Regions from separate parts of the Homo sapiens genome. Here regions 1, 2, 3, 4, 6 and 7 are each linked to region 5. The links are contacts of gene promoters, found by promoter capture Hi-C in blood cells and fetal thymus (Javierre and others, 2016). All regions are on one chromosome and are shown on one strand. Each heading gives the region's core, a stretch centred on a gene start or on the middle of the fragment in contact. The rest is flanking DNA. Distances are from core to core; before and after follow the strand shown. Region 1 overlaps PRAG1 (PEAK1 related, kinase-activating pseudokinase 1). Region 2 overlaps ERI1 (exoribonuclease 1). Region 3 overlaps PRAG1 (PEAK1 related, kinase-activating pseudokinase 1). Region 4 has its middle 44 kb from the start of FAM85B. Region 5 holds the start of CLDN23 (claudin 23). Region 6 holds the start of PRAG1 (PEAK1 related, kinase-activating pseudokinase 1). Region 7 has its middle 4.6 kb from the start of MIR4660.

What was found. The method cuts DNA at HindIII sites, captures the fragments that hold promoters and counts their contacts. A CHiCAGO score of 5 or more calls a contact.
Region 1: a fragment that was not itself captured here is called in contact with the fragment with the promoter of CLDN23 in region 5 in 4 of 17 cell types (total B cells, M1 macrophages, M0 macrophages and 1 more); the score reaches 8.2 in total B cells.
Region 2: a fragment that was not itself captured here is called in contact with the fragment with the promoter of CLDN23 in region 5 in 4 of 17 cell types (naive B cells, M2 macrophages, total B cells and 1 more); the score reaches 7.4 in naive B cells.
Region 3: a fragment that was not itself captured here is called in contact with the fragment with the promoter of CLDN23 in region 5 in 1 of 17 cell types (total B cells); the score reaches 5.5 in total B cells.
Region 4: a fragment that was not itself captured here is called in contact with the fragment with the promoter of CLDN23 in region 5 in 15 of 17 cell types (total B cells, naive CD8 T cells, M0 macrophages and 12 more); the score reaches 17.8 in total B cells.
Region 6: the fragment with the promoter of PRAG1 here is called in contact with the fragment with the promoter of CLDN23 in region 5 in 1 of 17 cell types (M1 macrophages); the score reaches 5.7 in M1 macrophages.
Region 7: a contact is called between a fragment that was not itself captured here and the fragment with the promoter of CLDN23 in region 5, in 1 of 17 cell types (total B cells). The highest score is 5.1, in total B cells.

Annotation. Positions count from the first base shown.
Region 1 is chr8:8,342,752-8,346,357 of GRCh38, reverse strand. The region is part of intron 3 of PRAG1 (PEAK1 related, kinase-activating pseudokinase 1); the gene reads left to right. Among named protein-coding and RNA genes, the nearest start is that of PRAG1, 42 kb to the left of the region's middle. The HindIII fragment of the contact is 1,419 bases long and covers 1,157-2,575 here.
Region 2 is chr8:9,020,664-9,024,064 of GRCh38, reverse strand. All of the region lies in intron 6 of ERI1 (exoribonuclease 1), which reads right to left. Among named protein-coding and RNA genes, the nearest start is that of ERI1, 19 kb to the right of the region's middle. The HindIII fragment of the contact is 4,770 bases long and covers 1-3,401 here.
Region 3 is chr8:8,364,394-8,367,882 of GRCh38, reverse strand. The region is part of intron 3 of PRAG1 (PEAK1 related, kinase-activating pseudokinase 1); the gene reads left to right. Among named protein-coding and RNA genes, the nearest start is that of PRAG1, 20 kb to the left of the region's middle. The HindIII fragment of the contact is 5,911 bases long and covers 1-3,489 here.
Region 4 is chr8:8,269,294-8,272,764 of GRCh38, reverse strand. No RefSeq gene overlaps it. Among named protein-coding and RNA genes, the nearest start is that of FAM85B, 44 kb to the right of the region's middle. RefSeq lists a silencer at 2,084-2,378. The HindIII fragment of the contact is 3,264 bases long and covers 1-3,028 here.
Region 5 is chr8:8,699,897-8,703,725 of GRCh38, reverse strand. It overlaps CLDN23 (claudin 23), which reads right to left and starts at 1,789. Exons shown (of 1, transcript NM_194284.3): 1 at 1-1,789. The coding sequence starts at 1,327. The coding sequence ends at 449. RefSeq lists an enhancer at 996-1,963 and a silencer at 1,437-2,056. The HindIII fragment of the contact is 12,864 bases long and covers 1-3,829 here.
Region 6 is chr8:8,384,973-8,388,601 of GRCh38, reverse strand. It overlaps PRAG1 (PEAK1 related, kinase-activating pseudokinase 1), which reads left to right and starts at 2,163. Exons shown (of 6, transcript NM_001080826.3): 1 at 2,163-2,281. RefSeq lists a silencer at 1,781-2,460. The HindIII fragment of the contact is 9,968 bases long and covers 1-3,629 here.
Region 7 is chr8:9,041,979-9,045,760 of GRCh38, reverse strand. It overlaps a transcript of ERI1 not described here. Among named protein-coding and RNA genes, the nearest start is that of MIR4660, 4.6 kb to the left of the region's middle. The HindIII fragment of the contact is 937 bases long and covers 1,172-2,108 here.

The DNA of each region.
Region 1 (3,606 bases), core at 617-3,116, 360 kb after region 5:
AGATGTCTTTTATCACACTACGTGAGTGAAGACATCTGTGGAGACTGTACTCTCACTGTAGATGATAAGAATGTTATTCACCAAACAGACAGAAAAGACTGGAGTATGAGGTTTTTGTCCATGGAAGTATTTTGCAGATGGTTTGCACCAGTTTTGTGAAAGACAGATCAAATTATTATTAATGAAGGAAAAGTGCCTTTAAAAAAGGCTAAGTAGTCTTGTTATACCGCATTGAGTACACTCATTGTCTTTTGGCCTCACATCTGATAGAACAATCCTTTAGGGCTCAGAAAAGTCATCATTGCAATAGTAAGCCTTTTCCAGGGATTCTTAAGAAGTCTATTTTACACACAGTGTAAAGACCCAAACAACTTGATTGTAAGTCTGTGCTTTGATGGCAAGCTTCCTGTTCATTTTTTAATTTGATGTGGTTTTGCTCATGCCCTAATTAAAGTGGCAATTCTCAAAAAGTACAGATTGCACAGGTTTCCAGGGCGGATGCTTTTTAATGCAGTTCATAAGAAAGAGTCATCAGTCCTAAGGTTTTATTTTATTTTATTTTTGAGACAGAGTCTCGCTCTGTCACCCAGGCTGGAGTGCAGTGGTGCCATCTCAGCTCACTGCAACCTCCGCCTCCCGGGTTTGAGCGATTCTCCTGCCTTAGTCTCCTGAGTAGCTGGGACTACAGGCATACACCACCGTGCTTGGCTAATTTTTTGGTTTGTTTTTAGTGGAGGTGGGGTTTCACCATGTTGGCCAGGGTGGTCTCGAACTCCTGGCCTCAAGTGATCCACCCGCCTCTGCCTCCCAAAGTGCTGGGATTACAAGTGTGAGCCACTGTGCCCAGCCTTAAGATTTTGCTATTAAGCAAAAGGGTCACCTACGTGTGTTTTGGAAGACCTGTTATATCCCCATTTACAACTGAGCATTCCAAATGCCTACTGATTTCTGATTTTCTTTTTCTTTCTTTCTTTCTTTTTTTTTTTTTTTGTAGAGACAGGGTCTCACTATGTTGCTTAGGCTGGTATCAAACTTCCAGGCTCAAGTGATCCTCCCACCTCGGCCTCCTAAAGTGCTGGGATTACAGGCTTGGGCCACGATGCCTGGTCACCTGTTGGGTTTTAGCGACCTGGCAGGAAGCTGGATTTCTCAAGCTTTTCCAATAAAGAAGAAGCAGTTAGATCCCAAAAGCCATGAAAATTCCACTTGTGGCTTAGAAACTAAGATTTACCAAAGTCCACTTTGGGAGGCTCCCTTCCTCCCTAACACACACACACACACACACACACACACACACACACACACACACACCCTGCGGATAATTTATCCTGTAATCACAGGGATAGACTAATTTTGTCTGCATTCACTTGATGAGAGTTTTGACAACAGTGACTTCTGCTATAGTAACTATAGACAGAAGAATTAACTCCCAAGTCTTAAAAGAGTAGTTAGGTCTATGATGCAACTGTTTCCAGCCACAGGGGTGCTCTGTGGTGGAACCAACCCTCGTTGAGACTGCCTGTTCCCACTGAGGGGTCTGATGGAAATCCCACTGTGTTATTTTGTGTGTTGTTTGCCTTCCAGAGGCGCAACAACAGATCAACAGGAGCAGCCACCCCCTGCCTCATTCAGGCCCTGTGATTTGCTTTCTCACTAGAAATTTTCATTTTTAGTGTATCAAATATTCCAAGCATGCAGTGAAGTTCAGATAATAATTTAACTGACCTGCAGGTGTTCCCTAAGATTTTTCAAATATTAACATTTTGCCATTTGCTTTAGATTTTTTAAAAATAAAATGTTACTGCTACTGTGGAAGATCCCTCCCTATCCAATTCCCATTTCAACCTCCCATTGCTACCCAGAGCAATCACTGTCTTGAAGTTGATGAGTATCATTTACATTTTATTATGTGCTCCGTAAAACATGTATATATCCTTATATGTTTTTAATCTCTATACAAATGGCATCACATTTTACTTGAGCCTTTTGTAAATTACTTTTAATACTCAGCATTTTAAAATATTTCTTCATATTGCTACCCTAAAATCCAGTTCATTTTTTTCTACTGCTATAAAGTATCCCACCAAAAGACTATACCACAATGTTTTCATTCCTTTGTGGAAGCACCGTTCAACAGTTTAGAAGGTTATTTGCTATTTGTAACGTTGTGAACACCTTTCTCCACTTATAAGAGTTTCTCCAGCTCTGTACTGCACAGTATGGTAGCCACTAGCTTAAAATGTGGTTAGTCAGAATTGCAATGTGAGTAAATATAAAATGCATGCCACATTTTAAGGACTTAGGATGAAAAAAACATATGGAATATATCATTAATAATTGATATAGGTTATACTGATTACTGCTTAAAGTGACAATATTTTGAATACATTATGTTAAATAAAATGTATTACTATAATTATTTTTTCCCATTTATTTTACATTTTTTAAATGTGGTTACCAGAAAACTTAAAATTACATATATGGCTTGCATTATAATTCTATTGGACAAGGCTGGTCAAGACCAGCCAGTAACTGATTGCCCACATGCAAGACATCTGTTTTTGTAAATAAAGCTTTATTAGAAAACATGCCACTAATTTCTATGGTGGCTTTCCAGCTACAACAGCAGAGTTCTGTAGTTGCAACAGAACCCTTATGGTCCACGAGCCTAAAATATTTACCATCTGGCCCTTTAAGGAAAAGTTTGTTGACTCATATTCTAGAGCAGTAATTTTTAACCTTTTTTAAAAACCATGACCCACAATAAGAAACATTAATATCATGACCCAACAAACACACATCTGAAACAAAAGTTTTACAAAACAAAGTTTCACAAATCCTTTCTATGTATTTTCATATTTTCTGTTCTGTTCTGTTTTGTTAAAATAAACTGCTGGTCAGTAAACTGCTAGTGACCCACTCAAGTGACTTAGCCATTCATTCATTACTAGTTATTTAAGTAACATTGCTCAAGGACATATACCCAAAAATGGAGTGACTGGATTATAGGAATGTGTGTATTTAACTTTACAAGATTCATCACATTGTTGTCCTGTGTGTGAGTTTACCAATCTACAGTCTCACAAACAGTGTGAGAGAGTTCCTATTTCCCTATATCTTTAACAAAATCTGACGTTGTCAGTCTGATCTGATGGGTATGAAATGAAATCTTGTTTTATTTACAATCTGATCATTCATAATTTTAATAATCTTTTCATGTGTTGAGTGGCCTTTCTTGTTTCATTTGTGAGTTGCCTGTTCATTTCCATTTTAAAAATGGGGTCATTTGTCTGTTTCTTAGATTTATAGGCACTCTTTTTTATTCTGCCTACCAGTACTTTATTAGTAATGCGGGTTGCAAAGATGTGAGTTGGCCACTCCAAGGTTTGTTTTTTTTCACTTTTTAATGGTGACTTTTATGTTATGAGGCAGAAGTTTTAAATTTTAAAGTAGTCAGATTTATCTTTTTCTTTATATTGCTATTTTTTAGCCCTTATTTTAAAAATTATTTCCTACCCCAAGTTCATAAAGTTTTCTCGTTATTTTTTCTGATGAATTTAAAATTTAATGGGTGTTTCTTTTCTGTTGAAAATTCGTGTTTCTACA
Region 2 (3,401 bases), core at 251-2,750, 320 kb before region 5:
ACTTTGGACGGCCAAGGTGTGCGGATCACAAGGTTGGGACTTCAAGACCAGCCTGGCTAATATGGTGAAACCCCGTCTCTACTAAAAAATACAAAAAAATCAGCCAGACGTGGTGGCACATGCCTGTAATCCCAGCTACTCGGGAGGCTGAGGCAGGAGAACTGCTTGAACCCGGGAGGCAGAGGCTGCAGTGAGCTGAGATCATGCCACTGCACTCCAGCTTGGGAGACAGAGTGAGACTCCGCCTCAAAAAAAAAAAAAAAAAAAAAAAGTCATTTTTACTTAAAAAAAAAATGTTTTTAGACATACCATATAATATACCTTATTAGCATTATATACAGCAGAAACTTGTGACAGAGAGTTTTATTTAGGTCTTAGATAAGGTACAAAAAAAGAAGGAAAACATAAGTTTCTTCTACTTATACAACTAATTGCATTATAGTTATCTATTACGAAGAGGGGAAAACCACACACAAAAAGAGCAGGCTAACAAACTGGCCAAAATAAACAGGTGCACAAAGAGAAACCACTGTTTACTCAAAAAAGGAGGGAGCATTTTATTGCCTTATAATATCTACAACTTTCCGATTACACTAATATACTGTGAGCTGTAGATTTATGCATAACTGACTGAAAATTATTTTAAGGTTTATTAATTTTTAATAATAAAAATTATTCCATCTGGGAGTTGTAGCAAAAAAAGAACCTAAAGGGGATCGAGCTTCTCAACTGGAGTATAAACTGACATGAAATACAAAAGACAGAGACACCTCTGAAACCACATTCCAGGATATGATTACAAAATCCAGATAAGGGGAAACACAACAGGACAAATGACTCAGTTTCTTAAAAGAATAAAGTAAAATAAACTGCTAGGGAAGAAAAAGAAGAGATTAAAAAAAACTAAAGAGATGTATTAACATACCAAACATATCAAAGACTAAAAAACTTAAGAGACATATTAACCAACTACAAATCTGTGAACCTTATCCTGATCTGACTCAACACACAAAAGGTAAAAGAAAATATTTATGACTATTTGATGAAGGAATTACTGCTAATTTTTTAAGATGTCACAATGGTATGGTAGCTGTGTTTCTAAGAAAATGACCCTTAGCTTTTGGAGCTACGTAATGAAATTTTTACAGATCAGATAACATAATGTCTGACTTCTGCCTCAAAATAATAAGGAAGAGGAAAGTGGGTGGGGATACACATGAAACATGACTGGCCATGAGTTTCTAATTGTTGAACCTGGGTCATGAGGACTCATACCTATTTCTGTTATGTTTGAAATTTTCCATAACACAATTTTTAAAAAAATTCACAAAATGAGTTCAAAAACACAAAAAAAGATCCACAAAAGGCCAGGTGCAGTGGCTCACGCCTATAATCCCAGCACTTTGGGAGGCCGAGGCGGGCAGATCATTTGAGTCCAGGAGTTCGAGACCAGCCTCACCAACATGGCGAAACCCCGTCTCTACTGAAAATACAAAAATTAGCCAGTTGTGGTTGTGGGCGCCCGTAGTCCCAGCTACTCGGGATGCTGAGACAGGAGAACTGCTTGAACCCAAGAGACAGGGTTGCAGTGAGCCAAGATCGCACTACCGCACTCCAACCTGGGCAACAGAATGAGACTTCATCTCAAAGACAAATAAACCAAAAAACAAAATAAATTCACACAAAAAGATTATCAAATATAATCAAAGGACTAGCACCCAAAGTAAAAATCTATAGACCAGTAAAATACACAGGTAATGAAAAAACAGACTACCCAATTTTTTTTAAAACAGTCAGAAATTTAAATAAGGGGTTCGCAAAAAAGCAATCCAGATAGCTGATACCTCAATGAGATGGTATCACACACCCGTCAGATTTACAAAACATTTAAAATGTATGACAATATCAGATGCTAGCAAAAACTTACAGTAACTATAAACTCACATAGCACTGATAAGAGTGCAAACTGGTACAATTCCATTGGAAAACTATTTTTGTATTATCTAGTAATGTCAATGATGTACATATCCCATGACCCAGCAACTGCACTCTTAGGTTTTTCTTAGAAAAACGAGTGCACAGACACCAGGGGACATGCACAACAATGCTTATAAAAGTACTCTTCATGGAAGCCCCAAATAAAAACAATCCAAATGGCCAGCCAAAGTAGAACAGATAAACAAATCTGGTATAGTCACACAATGGAATTAATAGCAATAAAGTGAATGAACTGCAGTGACATACAAGACGTGGATGGATCTCAAGCATAATATTGAAAAAAAAAAAAAAACAAAAAAAACAAATAATATAGCCAGTATAATACTAATTATATCGTGCTCAAAGCCAGACAAAACTATATAATATAAGGATATACATTTAAATACTAAAGCTATAAGGAATAATAAGAAAATGATTACCATGAAAGGAAGAATTAGGGTTAACTCCAGGAGGAAGGAAGGGAGTTAAGTGGGTGGAAGTTACAAGGGTATTTGCTTTATAGCAATCGGCAAAACTCTACTTTTCTGCATGCATACTTCTCAGTTTTAAAAGACTGTTAAAACAGAAGAGTCTGTAAGGAAAAGCACCTTTTCTCATGAAACTACTTTAGAACATGCTTCTCCAAAATGAAACTGTAAAGGGAGAAAAATGACATAGTATCTAATGCATGAGAATTAAAGGAAATCCCCTAAGATGATTTTAAAAGAAGCCTGAAGAACTAACAGTTCAGATTAGAACAGGATTAAAGGCTCCAGGAAGATAGTCTGCAAGGGAAAAACAGATGAAAAAAGAAAACCTGACAGACTACCTGAGTGTTCTCAGTCATAAGAAGTGACTTACAGTTTGAATGGAGAGTAAGGGGATAAGTAAACAACCGCGGAAGTAAATTATTACATCCAGGGGAAAGTTGTGGACACTCTCCATAGTCACGGGAGTATGAACACTGAGTGCTCTGACTGAAAGGTAATAGAGCTATAGTAGGAAGATGCAGGAAGGGAAGGACAAGCAGGAGTGGTAACTTAATTGAACTCAATCTTGATCTTTCAGGGCAGGAATTCAATAGATCGCAAACTGAAAAGTCAAGAAGTAGTATAAGCATGAAACTTAGAAATACAAAGGTAAATATTTGAAAAAAAACAAAAACAAAAACAAAAACAGAGCTTTACATAAGTTGAAAGTGTTTGCCTCAGAACAGGAACCAGTTCTGGTGAAGGCTATGGCAGAAGACTGCCATTCATTGTAAGTCTTGCAATAATATTTTAAACATTTACACGGCACACGCATATTAACTTTGATAAATGTGAAGTAAAATTAAAATCTAGTGGGGAGCATTTGCTCCATGAACAATCCACATACTGACTGCCCCTACAGTTTCAAACTTGTCAGGTATATATAGTTAACCT
Region 3 (3,489 bases), core at 847-3,346, 340 kb after region 5:
GATCACGAGGTCAGGAGATTGAGACCATCCTGGCTAACGTGGTGAAACCCCGTCTCTACTAAAAATACAAAAAATTAGCTGGGCATGGTGGCACGCACCTGTAATCCCAGGTATTCGGGAGGCTGAGGCAGGAGAATTGCTTGAACTCAGGAGGCGGAGCTTGCAGTGAGCTGAGATCACGCCACTGCACTCCAGCCTGGGTGACAGAGCGAGACTCCATCTCAAAAAACAAAAAACAAAACCACCAGATACATACAAGAACAGTTGAGATAAATTGACATAGTAGTAAGTAATATGACCTTATGACCTTGAAGGTCACGAAGAAAAGGAGGGAGAGTCCAATTTTAAAAGCAGTCAGCGTGGTGGCATCACTTAACGCGATTCTTTTTTTTTTTTTTTTTTTTTTTTTTTTTTTTTTTTTTTTGAGATGGAGTCTTGCTCCTTTCACCTAGGCTGGAGTGCAGTGGCACGACCTCAGCTCACTGCAACCTCTGCCTCCCGGGTTCAAGCGATTCCCCTGCCTCATCCTCCCGAGTAGCTGGGATTACAGGCGCCTGCCACCATGCCTGGCTGATTTTTGTATTATTAGTAGAGATGGGGTTCACCATGTTGGCCAGACTGGTCTTGAACTCCTGACCTCATGTGATCCACCCGTAATTCTTATATTATGTACAGATCAAAAGGATGGTAAGATTTTATGACTGCATATTGTTGAACCATGAGAACACTTGGGTTGCATCCTCCATGCCAATTCTGATCATTTGGAGCCCATGCATCAGGAATGCTGGCCATCATCTATTTGTGGTGTCTGCAGGTTGTAGGGAGGTGGGGGTGCAGATACATGTCATGTGCTGGCTATTTGCTGATTCAGCCATAAAATCTAAAATTTGTCTTCTAAAATGCATGATGTAGCTGGGCACGGTGGCTCATACCTGTAATCCTAGCCATTTTGGGAAGCAGGAGAATCACTTGCACCCAGGAGTTCAAGACCAGCCTGGGCAACATAGCGAGACACTACCTCAAAAAAAATTACAAAAATGAGTAGGGCATGGTGGCACATACCTGTAGTTACAGCTACTTGGGAGGCTGATGTGGGAGGATTGCTTGAGCCAGGAGGTCAAGGCTGCAGTCAGCCATGGTAACACCACTGCACTCCATCCTGGGTGACAAGGTCAGATCTTGTCTCAAAAAAAAAGATAAAAATAAAGTGCAAAATCTCAAGTGGTTAATACCCATTTTTGTTAGTAATTCAAGAGTTTAAGAGTTCCCAGCTGGGCTCAGTGGCTTACATCTGTAATCCCAGCACTTTAGAAGGCAGAGGCAGGAGGATCATCTGAGGTCAGGAGTTCAAGACCAGCCTGGCCAACATGGTCAAACCCTGTCTCTACTAAAAGTAAAAAAATTAGCCAGACATTGTGGCAGACGCATGTAATCTTAGCTACTCAGGAGGCTGAGGCAGAAGAATTGCTTGAACCCGGGAGTTGGAGGTTGCAGTGAGCCAAGATCATGCCATTGCACTCTAGCCTGGATGACAAGAGTGAAACTCCGTCTCAAAAAAAAAAAAAAAAAGAATTCCCATGCCTTTGGGTGGTAGGGGGACTCTGTCTAGCCACTTCTGTTTGGCAGATGACGGCCATTCTCTTTGAATAGAGACTCTAATTTTAGACCGAAATGCCAAAATGTCTTGTTTCTTCTTAGTGAGTGATTATGAACGTCCCATGAATTTTAACCATTTGTGGAACTCTGCATTTTAGTAAATAACAGTTACTATTAAGTTTATTACCCATTATTTAAAGGATTATTTTCCTTTATAGACCTTCAATTTACTGTTTCTATCCTTAAATCTTATTAAGCAATGTGTTTTCACTTAGCCTTATTTTGTTTGTTTGTTTGTTTGTTTGTTTTGAGACAGGGTCTCACTCTGTCACCCAGGCTGTAGTGCAAGCACGATCTCAGCTCACTGCAATCTCCACCTCTTGGGTTCAAGAGATTCTCCTGCCTCAGCCTCCCAAGTAGCTGGGATTACAGGGGCATACCACCATGTCCAGCTAATTTTTGTATATATATATGTGTGTGTATATATATATATATAGGGTTTCACCACATTGGCCAGGCTGGTCCCAAACTCCTGACCTCAGGTGATCCACCCTCCTTGGCCTCCCAAAGTGCTGGGATTACAGGTGTGAGTCACTGCACTCAGCCCACTTAGCCTTATTCTCTTTGGCTTGTTGCATATATTTATTTATTTATTTATTTTTGAGTTGGAGTTTCACTGTTGTTGCCCAGGCTGGAGTGCAATGGCGCGATGTCAGCTCACCACAACCTCCAACTCCTGGGCTTAAGTGATTCTCCTGCCTCAGCCTCCCGAGTAGCTGGAATTACAGGCACCTGCCACCATGCCGGGCTAATTTTTTGTATTTTTAGTAGAGACGGGGTTTCTCCATGTCGGTCAGGTGGTCTCGAACTCCTGACCTCAGGTGATCCACCTGCTTTGGCCTCCCACAGTGTTGGGATTACAGGTGTGAGCCACCATGTCCAGCCGTTGTATTGATTTTCAGTGCCCAGGATTGGGGAGTGAGGTGGCAGATGCAGGAGCTGTGTCAGAATCTTTGGGAGGGATAGTTTAACAATGAAAATTCAGTGATGTAACATAATTTAAATTGGGAAGATGAAAACAAAACTATTGTTTTCCTAACACATACTACTTATAGTTTTTCTGAATCTTCTCCACTGGTGAAAAGACAGACCATCATTTTTATAGAGATGCTTGATTGAAAACAGGTCATGTCTCCCTAGGAGAAAATAGAAGAAAACCAGGACAGAGATATTTGCTGACCTGTCATATTTCCTTGGTATCCTTTCTTCAAATCTTTCAAAATATCTTCTCTATATTCATGTCATCTTCAAGACGTGAAACAAGGAAATTGTCTGTACAGACAATTTCCAGACCCTTGATCCCAAACACTCTCAATGCTTGTCTGTGTTTCCTACAAAAAGCAGAAACCTGAGAAAGATAAGGAGTACTTTGCATGTAGAATAGAGAAGATCCTTACAGTTCAGGGTCTGAGATTCCATCTTGACATTCATTTGATCGCTAAATATTGAAGACTTCTTTTAGGTGGAGCCGTGACCATACATTGGTAGGAAAAGTACAGATTGCTTACGAGATGATTTTGGCACACTTGTTGACTGTATGGAGAAAACAAAAAAAAAAACAACATTGAAATCCTGCCATATAGTGTCATATAGTGTATGTAAAAGTGGACTGCAGATGGAATAATGATCCAAATGAGAAAAATAAGACCAAAAAGCAAATTTAAAAACATTCACAGCATTTTTAAGACCCTAGAAGAATAAGCCATAAAATGATGGCTTTGACTTCATCAAATTAAGGATTTCTGTTGAACTGAGGATGCCATCAGCAGTTAATAGATGGGTGAGAAATTAAAGCAGTGTATCAAAGACTGACAAGGCATTAACATGTAAGGT
Region 4 (3,471 bases), core at 147-2,646, 430 kb after region 5:
CAAATTAAACAAAGAACGCATAAATGTTTGGAAGGTATTCAACTTAGGAAACACTACTTTTTTCTGTTTTTTTTTTTTTTTTTTGCTACAAATATGCTTCTTATTTTGAATGTTAATAGACACATTTCCTGGCTTTGCCATGGTAAATAGATAAATGTTCCAGAAATCATTCCATTTTTTGAGATAACAAAATTATTATCATTCTAGGATGGAAAGTGAACATCCTACCCAAAGAATGTACATATACGCAAACTCGAAGTCCACCTCATTGAAATAAACTTGCAAACTATTGTCAATATCAACTTGACGCTGACATAAACCTCTTACCTCATGTGTCACCCGTTATCACTGGACCGTAGCCCTGAGCAGATACTGGAAAATCGTTCACTGGCTCAGGGGAAGTTTCCTGAGAATAGTCATGACAGTGTCCCTGTTTGTATGTGGACGCTAAATGAGATCCCAAAATGAGACTGTTTGCTTTGCTGATTTTCCGTAGTATCATTATATCCCTTTATGTTACAAGAGTTTCACAGATCTTGTACATTCTAGGAAGTTTTATATGTTGATTCAAACCTTTTATTTATCAGCCTTATAAAAACAACTGGAGTAATTACTACTAATGATCTGGGCTTGGCAATTATTGAGAGAACTGTCTGCATAAATAATTTCAAAGGCTCCTGTTTGGGGGTTTAGGAGTTAGGGTGACTTTTTCTGTAAAGACTTGGTGAGAAGTACAGAAAAATGGTTATTTCTAGATGTTTCCCTACCCTTAGAGCCTCTAAAATCAAACAACAGTTTATATGCATTTCTGACTCAGGTTCATGTGGATCATGAATATAACCAGACGTCACCTGTTAATGGCCTTGATAGTTGGTTTATTAACCTTGATAGTTTCATTACATTTTAAAATATCTATCATAGAGATAAAGCAGGTGAATATTCCCCATGCCTAGCAGCTGGTTTTGCTTATCTGCAATTCATAAGTGTTCATTACATCAAGGTATAAGGAAGGAACAGAACCTGGATTGATACCTGAAATTCAAGACATCAGTCACTTTCTACTTTAAAATCTAATTGATCCCTTTCTTTAATTTATTTTTTGTTTGTTTTTGATTTTGTTGTTGCTGTTGTTGTTGTTTTGAGGTAGGGTCTCACTCTGTCACTCAGGCTGGAGTGCACTGGTGCAATCTCAGCTCTCTGCAACCTCTGCCTCCTGGGTTCAAACGGTTCTCCTGCCTCAGCCTCCCGAATAGCTGGGACTACAGGCACTCACCACTATGCCTGGCCAACTTTTGTATTTTTAGCAGAGACAGGGTTTCACCATGTTGGCCAGGCTGGTCTCGAACCCCTGGCCTCAAGTGATCCACCTGTCTCAGCCTCCCAAAGTGCAGGGATTACAGGCATGAGCCACCGTGCCCTGCTTAAATCTAATTTTATTTCCCTCCATGTCTTTCATTCTATGGAGTTTTTCTACTAAGTGAAGCTGAGAAAACAAAAGTAATAATTGGAGGGATGTTTAAGACAGAATTCGAAGCCAGCAGTTCCATATGCCAGCTTTTTGCAACAACTTAAAGGAAATAGTAAAGAAGCAACATTGGTTAGAACAAATGTATATTTCACTACCCAAACCCCCAAATCACACAAGAAATGGGGCACCCATGTTCTTCCATACCTTTGATGCCCATTATGACAACCACAAAAGCCACTGGAAAAAAAAATTAAACATTTATGGGATCTGTTTATCCAGAAGTTGAGTAAGGAAAGAGGTGGGGACAAGACACAGCTCCCAGTGGATGTGAGGAGTTTCCATCTCCCAGGAAGGAGCGACTAACACCAGCTTGGGGCTTCTTGCACCCCAAATATTAAATAATTCATTCTGTATTGTTACATTTCCTGACTTCTAAAAATCAAACATATATTTAAGATATAACCTGAAGTGTTAAGTAGGTAATGGGTACCAGTAATTCCCATAGGGGATAGAATCGGTTTACTCCGATGACCTCTCTCCTGCCTCTGCAAGACACTTAAGGAACAGCAGCTTTCACAAAGTAGAAGGAAAGGAAGGATGACTGTCGATTATGGACTTATCTCTGCCTCAGATGAGGCTGGCCAGAGTACACACTCAGTCTGTGGGTAGGGTGGGGCAGAGGAAGGAGGTATTTCTCTCTGGGAGTCATGGGGCAATGTACAGATAGGTAAATACTGAAAACCAAGTCCCTGGAAGAATGCAAAGTCAGGGCCAAAATAAACATTCCAAACTGGGACAGCAATCCCAGGAGCCAAACAATGAATGGGAAGTAAGGTAAGGTGCCAAATGGGTTAGAAAAACAAGGCAGAAGAGAACCGCGGAGAGAGAGTATCGGGCAAGACCCAAAGAGGGGGCCATGACTGAGAAGTCATGCAGACCACATTTAGAAGAACTAAAATGGCTCAGAACTAACACCCGCCCCCGACCCCTTTCCCAGCAGGCCTTCTCCTTTAGAATGTCTCTAGGTTTGCCTGGGAGAAGCCTCTAAAGATTTCTGGAGCCTGCATTTCAAAGAAGGAAAGTGGGCTCATTGTCACAGTGGATCAATTCCTGGAGCCCCTGTTGGGTCCTTGGCGGGTGCTCTTGGTGTCGCAGGGAGCTATGCAGAGTGGTGTGGATGTTTTCAAAAGAGGGAAGCTAGAGGCAGAAAGCCATAGGGTTGGTGGCCTCAGACACCTTGAAGGGCCCAGGAGGCCCTCTGGTTTCTGGAATATCAGCTCTGCAACAATCTGAAGGAGATTCAGGCATCTTCCATTGAAATGTGTTCCCTGGGGGATGGACAGCTACCAGATTATGATTTATTTTGACCTTAGCACACCACAGGGTTGACTAGGGGTCTTTTGAAGTGGAACCCCCAACCTCTAGGTACCCATCAACTGCCAGGCCTATTGCTATAGAAAGGGACATTCTTGGGGAGGTACACAGGGCATTGTGACAGTAAAGGCCACTAAGTGGAGACAATGAACTAGTTATTTTGGTCCCTGTAGAGCTGCAGAAGCTTCCTTTGGGTTTGCCCTTTTACCAAGCTAATGATTAATTATTTATATAAGTCAACACAGTAATAAGCAATTTATGTGCAATTCCCACTGAATCCTTCCCACACTCTATAGCAGACCCTCCCCAGCATCCACGACCCTGTTTTTCCCTCTATAGCACCCCAATTCTGTTTTGTTCTCCACCTCCACCCGCCTTGTACCCCAGAAGCAAGATGCCTCCTTCTCTGCTGTACAATGGCTCTGGTTTGTTTGAGGGCCTCCCATTTCTTTGGCTAGTTTCTCTTTCAGGAACAAGCATATGACCAACTTTTGGCTAACAGGACCTTGAGGGGACGTGTACCAGAGATCTAGGATGCGCTCCTAGGAGAGAGCTGTGAGAAGGGGGAGCTTCTCTTCTTTCCCTGTTGCACACTGTGCCTAAATCTAATTTTTAGAGCTGCCATCTTG
Region 5 (3,829 bases), core at 540-3,039:
CCTCTTGAGAGTTTGCATGGCAAGGAGTTATACAGCAGGAAAAAGAAAAAAAACCCAATAATTATATTGATGCAAGATTCATCAGTATTTTAGAATATTGTCGTTTCAACATGTTAAATTGTTTCTGAGCACTGCTGATTTCAGCACTGTCCCTGGTCCACGTGACGCAAATGCCACCCTTTCCATATATTCTTCAGCAAAAATATATGAAAAGCCCGTCACTCCCTAAGAGGACCCTGATCCCTCTGGAGAGGAAAACTAAACTCTTTAAGAAGAAAACCAAACCCAACCTGAACTAATCGTCCAAGGAGTCCTGTTTGGTCCCACGAAAGGCAGATTTCCATCCACACCAGTGAGGGGCAAGTGTCCGGGTTCCAACTCGAAGCCAGGCGGGCCTGTGCGGGGGTGAGTCCTTTGCCACCCGGCGCCCCCCAGGCTCTACAAGCGTCTAGAGGTCGGAGTCGCAGGGCAGCGAGCTGTCGCAGGGGTGGGTGCTGCACGAGGGAGCGTCCTGGGACTCCCACCCCTCCCCGTCGAGGACGTCCACCGAGTTGGTGTAGGCCTTGGGCCGCGGCCGCGGCATGGGGAAGCCGACCTTGGGCTTGGGCTTGGGCTTGCGGTGCTGGGCAGGCGGCGGTCGGTGCTGGCCGTCGCTGTAGTACTTGATGGCGGGCGCCAGGTCGGGCTCGGGCCACTCCACTTGGATGGTGCTGACGCTGCTGCGGCGAGGCCCGGCGGAGGGTCCCTTGCGGCGGCGGCGACAACGCTCGTCGCACCAGGGCGCGAAGCTGAGCGCCAGCGAGAAGCCGCCCAGCAGCAGGAGGCAGCTGCCCAGGTAGCCCAGGACCAGGCTGTAGCTGACCTGCACCGTGACCGGGCTGGCCGGGGCGGGCAGCACGTCGCGGTCCCCCAAGAAGTGGTTGTACCAGGACACCGGGATGAGGCCGAGGAGGCCAGCGACGAAGAGCACGACGCCCGAGAGCCCTGCCAGCACGAAGTTGGGCTCGTCCTGCCAGCAGCGCACGCCCAGCGACGCCAGCAGAAGCCCCAGGACCGTGGCGGCCAGCGAGGTGACCATGAGTGCCCGCGCCACCAGCACGGGCTGGGCCTCGAAGTAGCCCCACTGGTCCGTCTGGCCGCACTCGCGCTCGCGGCTGCTCTGCTCGCGACACATGTCCCACAGGCCCTGGTACAACTCCACGTCCACTGGCTGGTTCAGGAAGCCCTTCACCAGCCGCCAGCCGGGCGCCAGGGTGCCGGTCAGGTTGAGCAGGAGCCCGCAGGGCGCCAACACCATGCCCAGCGTCATCACCACCGGCGTCCGCATCCCGGCCCGCCGCGCCGACGGCGCCCCTGCAGCCTGCCTTCCTTCTCCGCTGTCGCCTTCTCCGCCGTCGTCTTCTCCCTGCCGTGCCCCAGGCTCCGGGGACCCGAAGTCAGCGCGGACGCCCCGGGCTCCGGGTCGGGCTCCTGAGCCCTGATCGCTCCAGGGACGCTCTTTGTCTCCTGCACGGGGACCGTCCCCACTTAGGCTAGTTCCCTCCTGGCGTCCCGGCCGCTCCGCCCTCCTACTGGCCCTAATCGAAACCAGCCCGCGGGCGGGTCTGACCGAAACCGCGGGTCCGGGCGCGGGCGCCCAGGGGCGGCTGCCGCGGCCAAACCTGGCCCGGGAGGGAGGGACCCGAGGTGAGCGCAGGAAGCGGCGGGGCCACCTCGCCCGCGGCAGGTGAGATGGGGATCCGAGCGGCGGGGACACCCCACCTTGCAGCCGGGCGGCTGGGCCACGCCTGGCCTGGACTGCTCACGGCCGGAGCAAAGGTCGCCCCGCCCCTGGGTCCTCGCGCCGCCCCGCCGGGCCAGGCGGGCGGTGGGCGGGGAGGGAAAGAGGCGGCGCTGGCGGGACGCGGTGGCTGCGCAGCTTCCCTGCTGCTCAGCGGATCTCGGTTCCTAGAATTTGTTTCCGGTCCCTGCCCGTCGACCCTGCGCTTATAGCTTAGCCCTTTACTCCCAGAGGGTTCCAGATCGCCCCCTGGTTTGCTCTGCAACTTGCAGCCACTCGCAGAGAAGTGGGCGGTGCCGAGCGCTCCCGGGGATTGGAGGTGCGCTGGGTGAGTGTGCAGAAGCCCACCCAGTCCAGGAGCGTGTCCCAGAACGTTGCACCGGATTATTTCCTTAATAAAGGCTCCACACTCTGGATTAAATTCGTCTCTAAAGAATCTGTGCCAGTGTACTTCTGGGCAGAAGGGTTACACAAGGATTTTACTTTCCTTTTTCAGCCTTGTGAGACTTTCAAGGGGACTAGAAAGAGGGACCAGTGTTCCCGGATGTCCTGCTTAGCGTTTTTTGCAGGTTTATTTAATTTTACAGTGTACTGTGGCCTTTCTCGTCTGTAGGTTATTTTACAACTCTATAAATTATAGAAAGCCTGTAGTATTGCAAATGACTTTTGCCAACATCAAGGCTAATGAGTTCGTCCCAGTGGAATGATTATTGTCCAATGGATACTGACCAGTATGGCATTGATTTGTAAATTCATTTTAGCATTCCTGTTTGTCTGTATATGTGTGTCCTTTTGTTCTTTGCTTTTTTTTTTTCCTTTTTCTTTTATTTATTTATTTATTTATTTATTTATTTATTTATTTTAAACAGGGTTGGGGAGTTTCGCTGTGTTGCCCAGGCTGGTTGCAAACTCCTGGGCTCAGGTGAGTCTCCCGCCTCAGCCTCTGGAGTAGCTAGGACTGCAGGCAAGTGGCCAGCTTCTTTGGTTTTAACATCATACTGGTTTCCTTATTCAATAATGAGTTAAATAACCTCTTTCACACATATTCATTTTATATTTGTGTGAAAGTCACGATGTTTACATTTTTTCTAAAAATTATCCTTTAATAACACTTTTTTGTATTTTCTAGATTTTTACAATGAAAACGTATTGCCTTTATAATTGTTTAAAATTAAAACTATTTTTAAAATTCAAGTTAATTTAGCATTGGTTTGAAATAATTTTGAATATTCCAGAGTGGACAACACTAGGAATGACAGTGACTGCTTTTTTTAAAAGAATATTTTTAAATTAAAAAAAAAACCTGTGGTAACATATATGTAACATACAGTTGACCGTTGTAACCATCTTTAAGTGTACAGCTCATTGGTATGACATACATTCACATTGTTGTGATACCCTCACCACCATCCACTCCTGGGATTTTTTCCTCTTCCCAAACTGACACTGTACCCACTAAACACTAACTCTCCTTTCCTCCCTCCCTCACAGGCCCTGGTGATCACCATTCTACTTTTTTCTCTCTATAAATTTAACTACTTTAGGTACCTCATAGAACTGGAATCGGACCGTATTTGTCCTTTCGTGACTGGCTTATTTCACTGAGCTTAATGTCCTCCAGGTTCATCCATATTGTAGCATGTGTCAGAATGTCCTTCCTTTTGAAGGTTGAATGATATTCTATTGTGCATAAATACCACATTTTGTTTATCCAGTCTTCCATCCATAGACACTTAGATTGCTTTTACCTTTTGGCTATTGTGAATAATGCTGTTGCATCATTTATGTAATAGTGATATATACATCACTTTTAATTTTTTTTAATTAAAAAAATTTTTTTTGAGATGGAGTCTTGCTCTGCTGCCCAGCCTAGAGTGTGACGGCAAAATCTCGGCCCACTGCAACCTCTGGTTCCTGGGTTCAAGCAAGCAGTTCTCCTGCCTCAGCCTACCTAGTAGCTGGGATTATAGGCACCCACCACCATGCCCAGATAATTTTTGTATTTTTAGTAGAGACGGGATTTTACCTTGTTGCTCAGGCTGGTCTCGA
Region 6 (3,629 bases), core at 914-3,413, 320 kb after region 5:
TTACAGAGGAAAGAAGTGAAACATTTAGCCTGAATCCTGAGAACCAGGAACTTCTCAAACATCTTAGTTTGCCCTCTCCCAGTGTAAATGAATTGCACACTTTCTGAAGTCACTTTTGTATTTCTCCATTGCAGACCACTTTGTACCTACCTGTTTAATCAACATCTTCCCCTCTTGAGTCTTGGTAGGGTCTGGATCTTTCAGCTCTGTTGGATGCTCATGAAGTGTAACCAAAGTTTCCCTTCCTTTTTTTTTTTTTTTTTTTTTTGAGACAGGGTCTTGCTCTGATACCCAAGCTGGAGTGTAGTGGTGCGATCTCAGCTCACTGCAACCTCCACCTCCCTGGCTCATGTGAGTCTCCTGCCTCAGCCTCCTGAGTAGCCGGGATTACAGGCGCCCACCACCACACTCGACTAATTTTTGTATTTTTAGTAGAGATGAGGTTATACCACATTGCCCAGGCTGTTCTTGAACTCCTGGCCTCAGGTGATCTGCCAGCCTCGGCCTCCCAAAATGCTGGGATTACAGGTGTGAGCCACCGCGCACGGCCAGTATTTGTTCAAATGATTTCTCTCCACTTAGGGGAGAGAGAAAAATAGGGCTGGACTACCTGCACTTGGCAAGGGCAGAGTGGCAGAGTAGACTTGCCTACCAGCGAAGCCAGACAGCCTTTGGTTCCAATCTTAGTACTACCACTTTTCAGCTGAGGAACCCCAGCAAATTGTGAGGCCCCCGAGCCTCAGTTTTCTTATCTGTAGAATGGGGATAATGATGCTCTCCTCATAGGATTGCTTAGCGCTGGGTAGGTCCTTAAGGAATGTCCATTGCACTCCCATCCCTCTACAGCTTCCCCCAGATTCTGTCCTCTTAGGAGGCATGGGTGTCACTGGAACATGAGGAAGAATTCCCTGGATCCTTTTTTCCCTTTCCTCACACAGAAGCCAAACCTCAAATACACATCTTCCCTCTCTGTCCACACCCACAGCAGCAAAGAGGAGAGCCAGGGATCTGGGGGTGGGGGTGGGGGCCCATCTTCCTCCTCTCAGTGGGTGGGGGCTCGCAGGCTGACTGGCAGAGGACCTTCACTGGAGTCAAAATAAACTGCCTTCCTGGGGAGGGGATAGAGGGCGAGAGAAGCCGCAGGTATTGTTTTGTGGGGGAGGGGGGTCCTCTTCCTATTCCATTTCACTGAATTCTTCCCACCCGGCATGGCCCTGGGAGGTGACCATAGCCCTGGCTCCCCGAGTAAACACCCAGGTCAAGCTACAGGACTGACTGGGTCTTAAGCTATTATACTCCCAGTGAAAAGATTTTTTTAGCCCGAGGACTATCTCGAACTCGTTCTATCTCAGTGAATGACTCACTGGAAACGGTGTAAACACAGGTGTATTACTGGCCTGCGGAAGACTTGGATGTCCCAGCATGGTAGAAGGCCAGGTCCCTGCAGTGCAACGCTTGCATTCTACATCCAGAAAACTAAAGTTCAAAGAGGTTAAGCAATTTGCCAGAATCCTGCAGTCCAGGGACTGAGCGGAACCTGGAATCCGCCACCGGGACTTCCAGCCCTGCTCCCTCCGGCGCCACCCTCTTCCCAGAGGTAGGGAGAGCTGAGGCTCGCTGTGCTCACGTGGCTTTCAGAGCCCGCCTCGGACCCTGACCTGTATTCCACTCCCGACCCCACACTTCCTCGTTTCCCCTTCCTTCTCCCTCTCTTCCCAGGGTCCCGCAGGGCCGGCTGGATGAAGTGATGCCGGGCACCTATACACGCATGATGGCAAAAGGAGGATTGCAACGCCAGAGCTCGCCCCTCCAGAGCTGTGCAGGGTCCCCACCGAGGAGGGGGTGCAAACGGGTGCTGGGCTCGGGGGTCAGCCCGCGCCAAGTCTGGGGCTGGGGGCGGAGCCTGCCGGTCCGGGGCGGGAGGGTGGGCAAGAGAGGGAGTCCCGGGGCCTGGAGACTTTGGAGGAGTCGGGGCCCTGGGGGTAGGAGACCGCCGGGTGGGAGCGGCAGGCGCAAGCCGGGCGGCGGGGCGCGCGGGCCAGGCGGGGCCGGGCGGCGGCAGGGACTGCGGAGGTGCGGCGTGAGCTGGGGCGGGCGGCGTCACCGGAGGCGGAGGGGGCGGAGCCGCGCTCACAGCTGCCACCCGGCCGCCGGGCCCAGGCAGAAGCCACCCGCCCGCGGCCGGGCACGCACCGCGCGCAGACCTTCTGCGAACAATGCTCCGGCCGGGCGGCTGGCGGCTCGGAGACCGACGGAGGGGCCGGGGGAGCGCAGCCCAGAGGTGAGCCCGCGACGCGCTCTCCAAATTCGGCCTCTTTTTGTCTGGCGAGCGTGGTCGCAGAGGGGAGCTTTGGAGGGGCGCTGCGATCGCCGAGCGGGCTACCCCCGGGGTGACAGGCGACCGCTCGGGAAGTGGGCAGTGCCGGGGCCGCGTGAGCCCCGGGTGGTGCCCGAGGTGCAGGGAGGCGCCCGGCCGGGAGGACCGAGGAGCTGGAGGGTGTTTTTGATTCATTCGAGAATCGCGCTCTTTAAAACGGGGAAACTTTCCTACGAGTTCCAGGAGGGAGGACCGACTGTTAGGATGGTTTCTCTGGTCTTGCTGCTCTGTCTGCGGCCGGAGGCTGAAGCGCTTTGAGGACTGCTTTCCACCGCTAGAGTATTGTCAAGGGGGAGAGACGGAAGGCCGCCTGGCTGCTGGGACCAGGACCCGGGGGGATGGTTTGGGGGTGCAGGGTATGCAGCAGCGGGGCTCCAGAGGCAACGAGATGATGCCCTTTTCCCCGAGCCCTGGCTGAGCCCTCTGAAACGCATGCTGTGAGCACGTTATTAACCTTTGCTGGTATCCGGGGACACACACACTTAGAACATAGAATCCTCTGCTGGGCATGGAGGCGGCCGGGCATTCGCAGCGGAGAGCGCCAGCTCACGGTGTGTGCGTTTCTCTCAGGTAAGCTCTCCCTGCACATGGTTTTGCAGAGCCGATAGCAAAGCCCAATGGTCTAGGGGCGAGGAGTTTTGGCGATGCATTCAGTGCGGAGTCAGGCTCAGAAGGCTTTCCTGATCACTGGCCTGAACTATTCTTAACAACTCCTCTCCCCTTCCCTTTCTGAGAAGAAAATTTGACAGAAAGCCCTAGGGAATTCCGCAGTTATTTTTCTCTCCTGAGGTCTGGTTGGTTTCGACTGTAGTGGGTGCAAAACCACATTCCTCCCTCTGAGATTTTCTTTCCTCCAGCACTGGAGGAAGAAAAAAGAAAAGGAAAAGTTGGGTGAATATCGTAATTTACCCTCTGCGTGAGTAGGGAGGCAGGGGGCTAGTGGGTGGTAAAGTTGTCACTTTCTCCTTTCTGCCTGGTCAGCCCTGGCCAGTGGAGTGTGCTGAAGTTCAGACACTTTCCACACATATTTCTTTCCTTTTACTGGCGTTGCATTAATTTAACTGTAACATACAGAAAAAAATTTTAGGTGAATGTTTTCTGCAATTCTGTCACTTCAGAATAAGGCATAAGCAACTTCTGATGTAAGTCTGAGGGGGTATTTTGGGCCAAAATATTTAATCTTAAAGATCTGGCCACCTTGATTCTTCAGATTCTTTTTTGAAATGGGGTGGGAGTGTATCTGACAGCTTCA
Region 7 (3,782 bases), core at 391-2,890, 340 kb before region 5:
AGGTCGCAGTGAGCCGAGATTGTGCCACTGCCCTCTAGCCTGGGTGACAGAGTGAGACTCCATCTCAAAAAAAAAAAAAAAAAATTCTATAGATTCTGATGATAAATTAGATTTATTTATATTTTAATACAAATAGGGGTCTTGCTATGTTACCCAGGCTGATCTCAAATTCCTGGGCTCAAGTGATCCTCCTGCCTTGGCCTCCCCAGTAGCTGAGATTACAGGCATGAGCCACCATGCCCAGGGTCAATACATCAGATTTGAGAGCCACTGAAACACAGTTTTTGGTATCCATGAATGTTTCTACTAAAGTCTAATGAGAGCCTGCCTATTAAGCTATCTATTCGTGGAGGCTAGACCTATACAGCTGGAGTGAGCAATTCGTTTCAGTGCAAGTATACGTAAGTGGGATGGGGAAGTCCCTACCCTACAGAGCACTGGCTGTAGAACCAGTCTAGTGGAAATCTGAGAAGCCAGCTTAGGGCTGAACGTAATATTACTACTTTTTTTTTTTTTTTTTTTTTTGAGACAGAGTCTCACTCTGTCGTCCAGGCTGGAGTGCAGTGGCGCGATCTCTGCTCACTGCAAGCTCCACCTCCCTGGTTCACGCCATTCTCCTGCCTCAGCCTCCAGAGTAGCTGGGACTACAGGTGCCCGCCACTACGCCCAGCTAATTTTTTGTATTTTTGTAGAGACAGGGTTTCACCGTGTTAGCCAGGATGGTCTCGATCTCCTGACCTCGTGATCCGCCTGACTCGGCCTCCCAAAGTGCTGGGATTACAGGCTTGAGCCACCACGCCTGGCAATATTACTACTCTTAAGGGCTTCGTGGTCAGGACTCTAAGGCGAGATTTCAGAACAGTTCTCACCATGTGAAATCTGGCTCAGTGTTAGCAAGATGATGATGCAGGTGTGGCAGGTCAGGGTGAGAGTCAAGGGCAGGTTTGGAATCTCTATCTGCACATTGAGGAAAAGGAGAACTCCACTGGGAAAATACCGTCTTGGAGACTCCAGTGGTGTTTCATGTTTCTGTGTTTCTGTTTCTTCAACATGCTGTGTCTGCTGCTTGGTAAACGATTGCTTCTCTTTCTAATGTCATGATTTGTTCTTCAAGGCTTAGCTTGTGTTTCCACCTGAAAGAGCCCTCTTTGACCCCCTAGTCCATTAAGCTTTGCTTCTGCTCCTACACTGTCCTCTGTGTACTTTGGCCACATCATGGATTGTAATTATTTCTCCATCATCTCCAGTTGATGATGGGTAGTTGGCAATTTGCTAACTAGACCTACCTGTATGGGGGCCAGTGTGAACTCTCCTACTGAACTGACGCAGTGATGTGTCTGCTGACCTGGTCGCTGGCTTCCCTTCTGTTCCTCACATCCTCCTGATTCCCACACCAAAGTCACCTCGCTTCTTTCAACAATCTCAGCACCATTCCAGGATCCGGGATCACTTATCCGCTAATCAGAGAAAATGTAAGGAGCTCTAGACTTGTTGCCCTGCATCCAGCATGCCATGCTAACAAGGACATCCTTTCGCACCATGATGGATTTTGAAGATGTTTTATTTGAAGATGTTTTATCTTACTCTGATACCCTCGCTAAATCAGCTGTAATTCACTACCCATAATTCAGATGATATCCTATTTAACTCCGACAACAACCCTATGAAGAGTTTTGTAAGGAAAATTGGGAGCTCATAAAGGTTAAGTAACTTGCTGAGGTCCCACCACCAGTAAGTCTCAGAACCAAGATCTAAACCCAGGTCTAATTCCAATCTCTTATAGCCTTAAACACCATGCTACACCGTAGGCCTCTTTTGAAACTTACTTTACATTGTTAACTATCTTTCCCTGCTTATGCCTTATTTTCTCAATTAGAATTAAATATTCAGTAAATATTTCTTTGTTGAATATAAACAATACAATTATGGCCTGTAGTCCCAGCTACTCAGGAGGCTGAGGTAGGAGGATGGCTTGAGCACAGGAGTTCAAGTTCTGCCTGAGCAAGATAGTGAGACCCTGTCTCCAACGAAAATAAAACAAAAATAATATCTCCAATAAACAACACAATTATGGATAGTGTGTCACTGGACTGAACTTTAAAAAAGCTTCCAAAATTGCCCAACCTCTCATGGAATACCAAATACATAATAATTTTCTAGAACTATCTATTTAAAAGTTTCTACCAAAGTGAGTCTAGGCCTATTTGCATCTCATCTGCCTATCATGGATGATGAAAAGATTTCTCCACAATTGTCTCCATCTTCCATAAGAGATGTTCCTGAACTCCAAAGAACCACCACTTCCTCTGAGCTCTTTGATTTAGGCCTGGCCTCTACATGCTTGGGTGAAGAATGTAAAAAGTAAGACAGAATGATGGGGTCCAGGCACAGCTCTGATTATTCATAATTGAGTCACAAAAGCGTCACAAAAGCTGGGCTTGAAACTGGGTGGTTGGGGGAGGGTGCTGCATACACAGGTTTCACCTACATATCTGAGCCACACAAAAACACACTCATTGCTTGTCTTAAAGGTGGGAGTTTCAAGAAGACACAAGTGTTTTGAAGGATGTCAGAAATGGTTTGCATCAATTATACACGAAGAAGTAGAATAACACCTTAAAAATAAATCCGAATTATGTACCCCTTCCACAGTCAAGCATGGTTCCAAGGCCAGAAACCTAAAGAGATGCCCTTAGACGTAAGAGTAGAATCAAACACAATCTATTCCAACAGCAGAAATGAAGTGTCTACTGCCAGGAAGTGCAGCCACACCTTTCTTCTCCAGATCCTTGCAGACTGCAGAGCATGTGCCGGGGGACATACGGCACTGCGCGTGGGAGCATGCAGGGTAACTGACTGAAGCAGGTGCACGTGTAGGTTGAGCATCCCTTCTCTGAAATGCTAGGGACCAGAAATGTTTCAGATTTTGAATCTTCTCAGATCTTGGAATATCCGTATTATATTGATATTTATTCGTTGAGCATCACTAATCCGAAATCATGACAACACTCAAAAAGCTTCAGATTTTGGATCGTTTCTGATTCTCGCACTAGGGATGCTCAACCTGTGTTACCTCCTCAAAGCATAACACTTCCCTCCAGTTTTGTTAGCTAACTTTCATTCTGGACACAAGGACCCATCGCATCTAGGCTTCCTCCAGGGCCACAAAGCCCCAGAAGGCCTGCGGTGTGACAAATGACGCTACCTCCTCAAAGAACAGGGAACTGGCAGATTTGAGTATAATGGGAGGGTGTTCCCTGACTTGAGTGACACAAGAGTAGGCTGTGTGTGTGTTGGAGGCGGGAGAGGGCGTAGCAGTTGAGGAAATAAGCATCTGTTTGTTTCTTAATGTATAAAATTTAAAACGCTGGTGACACCTATGAAATACTCAAGAAATTGGATCTCAAAAGAGAGATCAGGGCAATAGATTTTAGGAACCTTTTGCAGAGAAGGGATAGTTGAAATCTTGTGTGCCACAGAGAGAAATTATCGCAAAGGGAGGACCAAGGACACAGCGTACAAAACATACGCTGGGTGAGGCATTCTGGCAATGCAGCCTCCAAGTTCCTTCTCTTTTCTGTGCAGACATTTCTCTTGGCCTTGAGGAATTCCTAATGCTTATCTTATTCTACTACATCTAATTTCTTTCCCCCAGGTGGGTTTGGTTTGTTCTTGCTTTTCCAGTTCCTTGAGGTACTCTGTTAGGTTGTTCATTTAAAAATCTCTTGGCTGGGTGCGGTGGCTCATGCCTATAATCCCAGCACTTTGGGAGGCCAAGGTGG